2 separate regions of the Homo sapiens genome follow, and region 1 is linked to region 2. Evidence: promoter capture Hi-C in human tissues and cell types (Jung and others, 2019). All regions are on one chromosome and are shown on one strand. Each heading gives the region's core, a stretch centred on a gene start or on the middle of the fragment in contact. The rest is flanking DNA. Distances are from core to core; before and after follow the strand shown. Region 1 overlaps ZBTB20 (zinc finger and BTB domain containing 20). Region 2 holds the start of NAA50 (N-alpha-acetyltransferase 50, NatE catalytic subunit).

The links. Contacts are between HindIII fragments. The study calls those that stand out against the background at their distance.
Region 1: a contact is called between a fragment that was not itself captured here and the fragment with the promoter of NAA50 in region 2, in 1 of the 25 tissues and cell types used here (hippocampus).

What each region holds. Positions count from the first base shown.
Region 1 is chr3:115,104,119-115,110,440 of GRCh38, forward strand. All of the region lies in intron 1 of ZBTB20 (zinc finger and BTB domain containing 20), which reads right to left. Among named protein-coding and RNA genes, the nearest start is that of ZBTB20-AS4, 6.9 kb to the left of the region's middle. The HindIII fragment of the contact is 9,266 bases long and covers 1-6,322 here.
Region 2 is chr3:113,742,561-113,749,847 of GRCh38, forward strand. It overlaps NAA50 (N-alpha-acetyltransferase 50, NatE catalytic subunit), which reads right to left and starts at 3,689. Exons shown (of 5, transcript NM_025146.4): 1 at 3,382-3,689. The coding sequence starts at 3,389. ATP6V1A (ATPase H+ transporting V1 subunit A) reads left to right here and starts at 4,475. Exons shown (of 15, transcript NM_001690.4): 1 at 4,475-4,553. RefSeq lists enhancers at 2,533-3,269, 2,873-3,022, 3,270-4,005, 4,006-4,741, 4,063-4,432 and a silencer at 3,593-3,712. The HindIII fragment of the contact is 9,566 bases long and covers 1-5,864 here.

The DNA of each region.
Region 1 (6,322 bases), core at 976-3,475, 1.4 Mb after region 2:
GGGGAAATGCACATTAAAAATAACAATGACATACCACCACACATGTAATAGAATGGCCCAAACTCACAGCACTGACAACACCAAATGATGATGCGGATGTGGAGCAACAGGAACTCTCATTCATTGTTGGTAGGAATGAAAAATGGTACAGCCACTTTGGAAGACAGTTTGGCAGTTTCTTACAAAACTAAACACATATACAATCCAGCAATTGCAGTGGTTGGTATTTATGCAAAGGAATTGAAAACTTATGCCCACACAAAAACCTACACACAGATGTTTACAGTAATTTTATTCATAATTGCCAATATTTGGAAGAAATTAATATGCCCATTAGTAGATGAATGGATAAATTATGGTACATCCAGGCAGTGAAATATTATTTAGTGCTAAAACGAAATGAGATATCAAGCCATGAAAAGACATGTAGGAAACTTAAATGCATATTACTAAGCAAAAGAAGCCAATCTGAAAAGATTGCCTTCTATCCACTGTACGTATCTATACACTGTATGATTCCAACTATATGACATTCTGAAAAGGCAAAACCATGGAGACAGCAAAAACTCATTGTTTGCAAGAGTTTAGGGTAGAGAGAGGGATGAACAGGAAGAACACAGGATTTTCAAGGCAGTGAAACTACTTTGTATAATACAATAGTGACAGATAGATGTCATACATTTGTTCAGACCCACAGAAGGCACAACACCAAGAGTGAACCTTAATGTAAACTATGGGCCTGGAGTAATAATAATATGTCAAAGTTGGCTTATCATATGTAACAAATATATGACTCTGGTGGGGGATATTGATGATGGGGAGGCTGTGCATGTGTGAAGGCAGGGGGTATATGAGAAATCTCTGTACCTCCCCATCGATTTTACTATGAAACTAAAATTACTCAAAAAAAAGTCTATTAAACAATAAATTAAAAGAAAATTGGTTCTGGTCCCAGCATTGCCACAAATAGCTTGCGTACCCTCGTCAAGTCATGCAACCATCCTGAGTTTCAGTTTCTTCCTATGCTAAAAATAACAAATTTAAAAGGACGGAATTGAACAGCGTATCATAATAATAGTTATTAAAGCCAATGCTTAAGTGCTTACTATGTGTCAAGAACTGTTCTAAGTACTTTTTATTTCTTAACTCTTTAAAGCCTAACAATTACCCTATAATGTAGGAATTATTTTTAGTCTCATTTTCCAGATGAAGAAAAAAGAGAGATTAAGTGACTTGCCTGAGATCACATAGCATAATAATAATGATAGGATTTGAACCCAGCCTGTCTAGCTTAGAGTTTATGTGTTTAATCCCTACACTATACTGTTTTACCCAATACCTAAAGATAGTTAAGGCCCCATCCAGCCATGACTCTGTGGTTGTGAGTCAAATCTAGTAAGTCCTGATGATTTCTTACCCTATCTTGCTTACTAACACAGAATAGTGAAAATTTGCTGTTTAATACCCATAGCTCTCAATACGTTCAATTTAATGGTACCCAGCAACTCCATCTAAAGTACATACTCTATCATGCATTCTTAAAGGTTGCATAGTTCAAGATTCAAATATCTAATAGTAATGCAAATAATTGTTTAAAGAACTAAATAATAAACACAATAAAATATTTCCTATTTTCTATAGCCTGAGAAAGGAATTAAAAAAGCAAGAATTCAATTGTAAAGGATTTGTGTATTTTGGGGGTTTTGTTTGTTTGTTTGTTTTTTGAGACAGCTCCGTCGCCCAGGCTGGAGTGCAGTGGTGCAATCTCGGCTCACTGCAATCTTCGCCTCCCCAGTTCAAGCGATTCTCCTGCCTCAGCCTCCTGACTAGCTGGGATTACAGGCGCGTGCCACCATGCCTGTCTAATTTTTGTATTTTTAGTAGAGACAGGATTTCACCATGTTGGTCAGGCTGGTCTCAAATTCCCGACCTTGTGATCCGCCCACCTCAGCCTCCCAAAGTGCTGGGATTACAGGCGTGAGCCACCGTGCCCAGACAAGAAAAGTCTGGGATTAGTGGGTCAAAATGAGTAATTGCTACGCTAAGTAAATGACTTTGCCATTGAGGACACCACCATAAAGTTAATTGTAAGTGGCGTAATTACACAATAATTCTTTTTTTTTTTTTTTTTTTGAGACAGAGTCTCACTCTGTCGCCCAGGCTGTAGTGCAGTGGCCCGATCTTAGCTCACTGCAAGCTCTGCCTCCCGGGTTCACACCACTCTCCTGCCTCAGCCTCCCGAGTAGCTGGGACTACAGGTGCCCGCCACCACGCCCAGCTAATTTTTTGTATTTTTAGCAGAAACGGGGTTTCACCATGTTAGCCAGGATGGTCTCGATCTCCTGACCTTGTGTTCCGCCTGCCTCAGCCTCCCAAAGTAATGGAATTACAAGCATGAGCCACTGTGCCCGGCCAATTAGGCAATAATTCTTAACCCTAGTCATCTATTTTAAAATTGTATCCCATCGGGCCCAAGGACAATAGTAGGCCAGGAGTACCATCCTTAAATGGGAAGAGTTGCACATCTAATTTAAATTCTAATCAACAAATGTTTAAATTTAAAACTAAAATAAAGTATTACATGTAAACTAAGTCATTGGAAGTACATTTATTATGGCCAGAGGATTTTATATGCCTCTCTCCCTACAAGACTAAGAGACTCCCTCCCCACCATCGCCACCTTCTTCCCCTCTGCCCCCCAGAGCAGAGACCCTACTTATTAAGCTTTGTTGGTCTAGCATCTGGCAGTACACCTGTAATATATCTGAAGCTCAAAAAAGTTTTCCTGAAAGAATGAATGACTAAACAAACAACAGTACATAGGGTTTATAAACCTTGGTTAATTAAAAACTTAAATAAATTTGAGATATAAGGATGATATAAACAAGTAAATAGCATTTCAAAAAATGTATTGTCACATATTAAACACATCCTTATCTTAAGATCTTGTGACAAACAAAAATAGAAAAAGTAATCTTCAACTTTGCTGTATGTTTGAAAGAATTTCACAATAAAAAGTTGGATAAGGCTGCATGCAGTGGCTCATGCCTGTAATCTCAGCACTTTGGGAGGCCAAGGTAGGAGGGTCACTTGAATCTAGGAGTTAGAGACCAGCCTGGACAATATACTGAGACCGCATGTCTATAAAAAAATCAGCCTTGTATGATGGCATGCACCTGTAGTCCTAGCTACTTGGGAGGCTGAGGTGAGAGGATTTCTTGAGCCCAGGAGGTCAAAGCAGCAGTGAGCTATGGTTGCACCACTGCACTGCAACCTGGGTGACAGAGTGAGACTGTGTCAAAAAAAAAAAAAAAAGTTTGTTAAAAAAAGTATTCATATCTCACACCAGTCAGAATGGGGATTATTAAAAAGTCAAGAAACAACAGATGCTGGCGAGGCTGCAAAGAAATATGAACGCTTTTACACCATTGGTGGGAATGTTCAACCATTGTGGAAGACAGTGTGGCGATTCCTCAAGGATCTAGAACCAGAAATGCCATCTGACCCCACAATCCCATTACTGGGTATATACCCAAAGGAATATAAATCATTCTACTATAAAGATACATGCACAGGTATGTTTACTGTAGCACTATTTACAATAGCAGACATGGAACCAACCAAAATGCCCATCAATAATAGACTGGGTAAAGAAAATGTTGTACATATACACCATGGAATACTATGCAGCCATAAAAAGGAATGAGATCATGTCCTTTGCATGGACATAGATGAATCTGGAAGACATAATCCTCAGCAAACTAACACAGGAATAGAAAACACTGCATGTTCTCACTCATATGTGGGAGCTGAACAATGAGAACACATGGACACAGGGAGAGGAACGACACACACCAGGGCCTGTCGGCGGGTGGGGGGTGAGAGGAGGGAGAGCATCAGGACAAATAGCTAATGCATGTGGGGCTTAAAACCTAGATGACGGGTTGATAGATGCAGCAAACCATGATGGCACACGTATACCTATGTAACAAATGTAGAGGTTCTGTGCATGTATCCTGGAACTTAAAAAAAAAAAAAGATATTCCCATACAACTATCAGAATTTCAATAAACATCATTTCTGAAAAGAAAATTCAGCTTGCCTTCACATTTCATTTATCTATTATTTCTTTCAAATCTATAACATAAGTGTTTGTAAAAGGCTGAAGTTGGCTTCAGAGTACTTCATGGGAATGGAATTGTCCTCTTTGAGGAAAACATCTTGATAAGCTGCTGGAGTCAGAGAGTGAGGCATGAATATTTCTTGTGGGGTTAAACTGTACTACATAAAAAATGAGTAACAATTTGAAGTTAGGGGAGCACAGAGATGAGAGGGAGGAAGAAGAGGAGTAGTGGGAATTTCCCAATGTAAACGTGGCCAGATTTTTTAAAGTAATGCCTAATAATAAATTCTATGAAGTTTATGTTTTGTGATGCAAATATTCTCCTTCTCTCCAAACTTTCAGGAAAGGATAATGTATATTCTACAGTCTTATATAGTAGTAGAACGAAGAATCAAATAATGAAAAAATGAAGTTATTGCCTCACATTCACCCATATACTGTAGCCTTTATAATCACGGCAGTTTCCTAATAAGACAGAAAATATTACCGGAGTTCCTCGGAGTGACCAGTGGTAGAGTGAACAGTGGCCAGTGAATAGTAAATAGCAAAGAGTAGAAAATCAAAAGTATCTTTAATATAGAATGACTCATATCTATATATGAGTCATTTTCCACAATTGTAAAGGAGAAATATGACCATGGGGAAAAGTGGCACGGAGTTTAGTATCTGAATGATAAGATTATTATGCTATTATAGCTGTTGTTACTACTCCTATAAGCTGATCTTAAATGATATGATTATCTTTAGAAATTTAGAAGAGGGTACTTTTGTGACACAATCAATAAATGCTAAATCAATGGATTACAAAATATAAAAATGTTATTTGTAATATCTCCCTGGCTCCAGAACAACGTATTAGACACATATACTATATGAACTCTTCTGCTGCCTGGTCAATCCTCTCTACTAAACAATCTACAACAATGCCAGCAACTATCTTAAAAGTTTCCACATCTACATAATTTACTTATATGTACAGTTTATATTTAATACAAAAGGAAAGGAAAGAGAAACTACAGAGTGCATTCTATAGGAAAAATAAAAGTCACAGAGAAGATATAAAAGGTACATCTTAATTGCCATAGATGTTTGTCAAGCAGGTTGGTGAGATCCTTACTGTTTGACCTGGTGCGGCTATACTCAAAAACTCAATAGTCTTCATATCTTTCCAAAATACAAAAGTTGCTACTATTAATAAGAATGCTTTATTAAAAGTTATCTCTACTACATGTGTCAGAAACAGCCCAACATACACTTTCTCATTTAATCCCCCAACAGCATTAAAAGAAATCTCATTTTCAGATTATACATAAACAAAAAGAGGCCCAAAGACACAGACCTAATAAGTAGTAAACGTCGGGCCTAACATCTATCCAAATAGAATGTGTAAGGAATAGAAGGAGGGGCTTTATAAAATTACTCCAAAAATTATCTAGAATAACAGACTGGTGATATTAGGTAGAAAAAGAAGACTAATGATGGGGAACAGATTTGAAAGGATATATGTTCCCTAGATAATTTCAGAACTTAAAATTTTATATTTGTTTGAGGAAAAGTATATTAAGTATCTCAAAGTAAAATTTAAAGAAAGGATAATGGAAAAGACTAGTATATTAAAAAATAGCTTTCAAAAGCGATGAAAGAAACATACCATGAACCAGTTTGATTAAAGAGTTGGAAACATTAGGCGGGGCACTGTGGCTCACGCCTGTAATCCCAGCACTTTGGGAGGCCGAGGTGGGCAGATCACCTGAGGTCAAGAGTTCGCAACCAGCCTGGCCAACATGGCGAAACTCCGTCTCTACTAAAAATACAAAAAAATTAGCTGGGCATAGTGGCACATACCTGTAATCCCAGCTACTCGGGAGGCTGAGGCAAGAGAATCACTTGAACCCGGGAGGCGGAGGTTGCAGTGAGCAGAGATCACGCCACTGCACTCCAGCCTGGGCGATAGGGACTCTGTCTTAGAAAAAAAAAAAAAAAGAGTTGGAAATATTAATAGCAATCTGTCCAGCAATTTTGAAGCGAGTTATTAATAACGGAGTCAGCATGATAGCAGCCTGCTAAGCCCTCTGAGGCAACAGGCCATAGGGATGATTCAAAATAGGTAGAAATGGTATCTTTTATTTTTAAGAAAAATCACTTAGCCCCAATAAGCTGTAGGCTTATAGCCATAACTTTTTAAAAAATGTATAAGGT
Region 2 (7,287 bases), core at 2,439-4,938:
CAAGGTCTCACTATGCTGAGATGCAAAAAGCATTCCTTTTGCCCCTTCCCAGTCCATATGCTGTCAGAGGTAACCACTGTTCGGAGTTTTTAAAGTTTTGTTTCTGACTGCAGAATCTTACATTTTAATTTTATTTGGTAAAATGGCTCCCTTTACTATTCCAATTAGTAGTCAACATTGTTCCATATTTATATTACTGCTACCTACTTTCCCATCTTAGTCACGTATTCACATTTTGTTAAAGACATTTTTTATTAGAACTAATTTGCACCTCTTTACTACAATTGAAGGCTAAATGATTTGGTTTTATTATACTTTCCATTACACTGCCTAATTACATTGCCACCTCAGTCATGGTTATCTGTGGCATACCTTCTTGCTTGAAATCGCCTTCCCTAGAGAAGAACAGATAAAAATATCACCCACAAATTCAAACTACAATGTCCCTGGTTCATAAAAACAGCCAACCTCAAAAGTAAGCAACATTTCCTAGTATATCTCAAACTTCTACATGTGCATATAAATTACATTCAGTAGTTAATAACCGGAAATTTATCTTCTATGGAGGAAAGACATGCCAATACAATGGAAAGTCCTACTGCTACTACTAATAAAAATACTCATGGTAAAAATATGAAGAAAAACCAGCTAAGTTTTAAGTTTCAATATGATAGGCAACATAGGCAACAGTGTACAATTTTAAATATTTGACTGGCTTCGTGTTGGGACTTCCGCAGTTTCCAATTTTAGATATTTCAATTTACTGTTTACTTACCTCAATATACAATAGAATACTTAGCAAATAAAATTTCATACAAAAGCCACATAACCAGGACCACTGTTTCGTTTTTACAGGCCATTCCAAATTAAGAGTCAGGACTTTAAAATCGACCACACTGTGCACTGTGGTACAAGTTTTGGAACTCAAGGCGCTTAACTTATTTTAAACCTATACTGTTGTAGGTTCAGTATCCGAACAAGCACAAGTAAGATTCACACAACTCATTTGTTGAGTGTCTTAAATACAGACTTAGAAGCAAAAAAAATTAAAAAGTTTCATCTCATCTGGGAGTTAGTTCATTTGTTAAGTTAAAGGGATTATTCCTGTGAAATCATCTTAAAGGTTTACAGTAAAGAACACAATTCTAAGCTCCCAATCATAAGAAGTAATAGGAACTTCACTGGCATAGTTACTGGCATAAAGGTACAGATTCAATAGTTGTAAGTTTCCTCTAAATTCGGCCAGTTATTTCTAGGGATCTGCCTTCATCAGGTTACATGTAAATACCCATTTTAAACAGAGATAATTGCTCCATGAATATATTAATTCAAGGTAGATTGTGAATAATATGACTGTTCAGCTTCATTTCTATCGCCAAGTTATGTATCAGAAAGAACATCACAGCCTATGGAGACTGAACTAGATTGAAGATTTTGGATCTAAACATACAGAATAATTTCCTGGCAACCCCTTCGTAAATCCATGGCAATTTCAACACTGGGAACTCTTCAGCCTCATTTTTCTTACTTAACAGAACATGACAAACAAGTACTGAGTGCCTGACAATGAGTACAAAAATGAGTAAGAGTCAGCAACCATGTTCAAGAAGTGCAGTATATGCCGCGTTCAGTGGCTCACACCTGTAATCCCAGCACTTTGGGAGGCAGAGGTGGGTGGATCGCTTGAGCTCAGGAGTTTGAGACCAGCCTGGCCAACATAGTCAGACCCCCGTCTCTACAAAATATACAAAAAATTAGCAAGGCGTGGTGGTGCGCGCCTGAGGTCCCACCGACTCGGAAGGCTGAGGCGGGAGGATTGCTTGAGCTGGGGAGGCAAAGGTTGCAGTGGGCCGAGATAGCGCCACTGCACTCCAGCCTGGGCAACAGAGCCAGACCCTGCCTCATTAAAAAAAAAAAAATGAAAAGAACAAAACAAAAGGAGTGCAGTATAGCAGAAAAACAACATTCTCCAAATATGTTGGATTGTATCTGAAATAGCCAAACTTCCAAGATCATGATTCAAGTGGAGCAAATACTTCCTATACCCGTCAATTATATTTCCCTAACTGGAACTCTTTACAACTTGATGTGAAACAATGCAGGTACTGTGAATAGTTCATGGTTCTTAAACTTTAAAGATTATTAGTACAAAACATACAATTCAACATTAGAATAAATATCCAGTATTTAAAGGAAAATTAAAGTAAGGAAACATGTTACAGACCTAAGACCAAATTAAACTTTCTTGGAATCTCTTCAGGAACCTCAAATACCGATACACAGAGGTAATATTTAGGTCCTTGTTTGGGGCAGTATGAGATTACGTTGAAAGTGACTTTTATTTCATCCTCAAAAGTGCTATTGAATAGTTGGAATGACTTCGTTAACTTAAAACATAGTTACGACTTCTTAATCGACTTACAACAACAAACTATGGCATCGCAGAGAGCTTTTTAACGTTTATGAGCTTCATCTCTTTGAGGGTAAAGACAAGCTCCAAAACGGCTTGAGACAATGCTTCGGAAAAATGTTACGTAATTAATACATTAAAACTATACAACTTAATGGTAAGGAGACATTTCATAAAAACTTAACCAGTCGATCCAAAATAATTCCTAATTTTACGTAAGAGGCAAACGGTGAAAGACCGAACATTAACTTTGCCAATCACCTGAAAGGAGCAGCGTGGTAGAACTACCCAGGACCGCCTCAGCACTCAGGGGCAATAGTGAACTACTGAAGCAACAGCTCCACCTACTGATCCACCCTATACTTCCTTAAATATGTTGGCACCCCAAGTCTACAGTGATCGCGCTCTCTCCCCCTCCTCCACTCGCTGTGACCCAACCCAAATCTAGTTGAGTCACTAGCTCTTAATACTCATCCCCGTGCTCTTTATTCCAATTTCTTCTTCCTCCAGAAGGTTCTGCACAGCTCCCAAGCGTGAATTAAACTGAAAGGTGTCAAACACCGCAGTTCCAGAGTTGAGTCTGGAGGTGGAAGACAACCAAACCACTCCACCTGGAGCTGCGGGCCGGCGTGGCTCAGCGGTCCGCTCCCGGGAAGGAGGCCCCGGGCGCTTCACAATAGCCTTTCCATGTTGCCCCACTCGGTCGCTTCTCCCCACTCAACAACCCACACTCGTCTCCGAACCGAAACCCTGAAGCCCCCCGGGTCTTGCCTCCGCTGGCCCTTCAGCCCGCCAACAGCCCGAGCCTCGCCTCCGCCCCCTCCGGGAGCCGAGGGAACTGAGAAGCAGAGAAATCTCCCTCCGCCCGTCTTCGCCCTGAATCTCTCCTCGCCTTTGCGGCTCTCCCCCTCTACATGGGCCCGGACCCTTCTACCCCACCGGCCGGGCCCTGCCCGGCTGCCCTTCCTCACCCTTTCATCTTCCCCGCCTGCTGAGGCCGTCGTTACCACCGATATCAACGCCGTCGTAGTCGCCGCCCTTAGGTCTCCGCACCCTTAGCTCGGGCCACTCAACCCCGCAAGCCGGCCTCCTAGCCTGGGCAGGGAGCTGTGCGAGCAACGAAGGCCGCGAGAGTCGAGTGAGGGCTTGAGTCTGGTGGGGGCGGGAGTGTCTCCCGCCGCCGCGCTTGTGCCGCCGCTTCTCCACACGTGCACTCGGGTCTCTCGGCTCCCTCCCGCCGCTGCCGCCAGCCAGACCCGCTGCCGCGCTGTGACCTTTCACCCCGCCCCTCGCGCGCCGGCGCGCCGCCGCCTCACGCGCAGCCGCACTGCTCGCCTCCGCGCACCCTGCCCCCTCCACTCCGGAACCTCCATCTTTCTCCTGGACTGGGCCTTCTGGGGTCATGCTCCTCCCTCCCACCCGCTTACGACACTGCTTGTGGGGCTGGCTCGGTAGGCCCTGGCGGTAAAATCCAGATTTTTCCACCCCTCCCTCTCTTGTCCCATATCCGCAAGATAGTTTTTCTCAGCCCCGTTCTTCCCAGTTTGTGGTCTCCAGAGTGACCTTCAAACGCTGTTGCCTCCTAGTAGGGTTTTATAAAGTTAGTTCTTCTAAATGTAAAGAAATCTGTGGAAAGCTCAAGTTTAAGTTAGGTGTTTTAAAACAAACGTAGTTAACAATCGGCCAGATAGATTGGCTACCCTCCAGCACGCCTCAAGTTTTAAGATCACGTGATTGGCCCAAACCTCAGAGCCTGGAATTTTACCGGCGGACTCCAGAGGGACGGAACGCCACCGCCATTTCCTGTCCCTCGATTGTGGCGTGAACGTCACTTCCTTAGCAATGCGCTTTAACTCTTGCTGTCCACATTTTCCACATTGTACTTTATAACATACTCTTTGTGAAAATTTATCTTTTATTTCTTTAATCCAAGAAAATTAATATTCAAGGGATCCGTAAAAATTCAGGCCCCCCGAGATGTAGAGCGCTGGGATGGAGGAGGCAGGGCGGAGCTCGACGTCATGTGACTGGTTGGGCCCGCCCCCCCCCCCCCCCCCAACCTGTGCAGCTGAGGACTTCCCCTCCGTGGTGACAGCCTCTGGGTCCTCGGTCGGTACAGTCTCTGCACCTCGCGCCCCAGCAGGTGAGCGGCGACCGGTAACTGGCGAGTGGTGGGGATAGAGGGGGTGGAAGGAGGCAGAGGAAGGAGAGAAGGGAGAGTGTGAACGGCGACTTTTCTGCCTGAGGCTTCCTCCCCGCTGTCACCCTGCACCGGCAAGGAGCTCATTTCTCCTTAACCCCCGCTCCCCCAAGTGTGGTCGTTCCCGCTACTTGGGGATTCAGATGTCCACCTTTCCCAGGGTTGGAAGTGAGTGCGGCCATTATGGTTCCCTACTCAGAGCCTTTGGGGCTTCGGGTAGCAGATTGTTTCAGCCATTTCACAGGGTCTGCAGTAGACATTAGGTCCCATTCCTTAAAGCCCATTCTTTGGCAAAGGTCCTCACTGTCCTTACCCTCAGCTCAGGGCTGAGGAGCGGGGAGGTAGCAAAAACCCTGGAGGCAGAGGCGTCTCCGGTGAGACAGGCTTGGGAGGGACTGTCACTGATACGGCCCTCACTGCAGAGTCACTGTGAAGCTTCCCTCCGAATGTGCTTTCTCAGTGATTCTAAGGATTTTATCTGACATACCTGCAGGGAAGGTTCCGTAGATGTTCACGTGCTTCGGATGGGACTAGAAAAGTAAAAGAAGGGCTTTTACTTTTTCTTCTCTGCAGAGAGGACAGTTGAAGGAATACTGTCTTCAAAACAGGAGGTGTTAGTAATGCGACAGTCTCGATTGAATGAGGAGGCGTTGAAAGATGGTATTGTGGTGTTGTGGTGTGCAGGAGGCCCAGGCTGGTTTAGGGAAGAGTGAGTAGGGTTCCCTGAAACCGAAATAAGAAACTGATTGGGTTGGAAATAGTTAAACCAAATTGATTTGGCCATATGCTTAAAGGTAGAATCAAGTCGAGATGTTGCTGTCTGCACATGTTTTCTGCCGTCAATCCTTCCCTTTTTGTCATTTTCCCCTAAAATACTACTGAATTGGCACTCCCAATCTATTCCTTGATCGGCTTTGTGGTAAATTTAGGTTAAGTAGCATTTGTATCCCTCTTTAGCTTTCCCCATTTGTAAAACTCCCGGTGCCCTCTTCAGATTTTGATGAATAGTATTTTGTGAAAATACAGAAATTGTTGTCCAATTGAAAATACAGGTGTTGTCCAACCCAAGTACTCCCATTCCGTCCATAATGTATTATTACCAATGTTTTGATCCCAAACAATGTGCTTTAGGGAAGAATGTTTTTCAGTTTGTGGTTAAACTCTTTTATTTATACTGCAAACTCAGAAAATTCCATGCTGCTTTTCAATTGAAGGTCTTACGAATATTACAAATTTGATTTTTAAAATTTAAATTACACCTTTCTTAATATGAAAAATTATATGCTCAGTTAAATCTTGTAGTTTTCTAACTAAGGTAATTAAAGAAGACTGCTGGAAAATGAGGAAGATGGAATCATCTTTGGTGGATGTGACTGATTTATTTTTGTTTTTCTGTGTCTTCCAAATTCTATACAATAAACGGTCTTATTTTGTTAAGGAGAATAAAAAGTTAAAATTCTACAATAGCAGCAGTTTAACAAAGTATTTTTATAGTAAGTGCAAAATACATAACCTAGCTTATTGATGCTCCTTAGTAGAAAACATAACCTCGGAGATGTTGCTTTCCCCAAGTAATGAAGATTACTACTATCTCTTGTGGATTTACCATTTTAGCATTTCGTACTTACGACCCATACTGGACAATAGACTAATGTATTGATATATTTATGTCATCATGCCTGCTGTAGATATATATATGTAGTTTTATCCATTAATTTTCTCCATAATAAGGTTCCTTGATCTCTAGAGGAGAGGGGAAGAAAAAAAGGAAGTGTTACTTCAGTGACCAGGTGACATTGCACCACGTAAGGAGAATTCCTTATGTGGTCTGGAAGTCCTAACTAGTCCTGTCTGGCTGAGACCAAAATGTGAAAGAGAAAACCAGCTAGAAGCATTGACTACTAGAGGGGAAAATGTCAGTATGAAAGTGGTTGGATGAGTCTGCAGTTTTACTTCACAATTCCCCCAGTTTTAGGGAACTCGTGAAAGCAATAACTTAGACCACTGATGAAATGTAGATTAGTAGTGGGAATTGGTGATTACATTGCTAGTAAGGTTAAATGTGAAAAAAAGCTTTGACATTATACACAGATCACACACACACACACACACACACACACACACACACACACACACGATTGGAAGCCTGGAAAACATTTCTGAGACTAGCCTTATCAGTTTATGAGTGTTACATGTAGAAATCTTAACATTTATTAGGGAATTGTGCTATAGTCCACTATTAAATAAAGCATAAGGGTTTGGTTTTATTTTAGGGCCCTTGGCACTTCTGGTTTTCTTTTCCTGAGTTCTTGTTTTCAGTGCCTTTATAGATTTTTGCCACCACTAAGAATGCTTTCTTCCCCATGGGCAGAGGTAGCCACTCAGTCCTATAGACTACTACTAATCATCATCATCATCTTTTCTATTCTTCTACTTGCACTTCTAGCATTGTATTTAATTCCTGTTCCCTGGGCTCTTCCTCAGCAAATCATAAAGCTCTCAGGACTGTGAACTATAATACTATTGTGTCTTCAGCACCAGAATACTGAAGTACCTGATAGGTACTCAATAAATTATTTATTGAATGAATGTTGGGCAATTAGACAAAGAAATTAAACCACTTTAATTTTTGCAGATCATAGCTCTTCCTAAAGTTGTGCACTAAATGTTAGCTTTT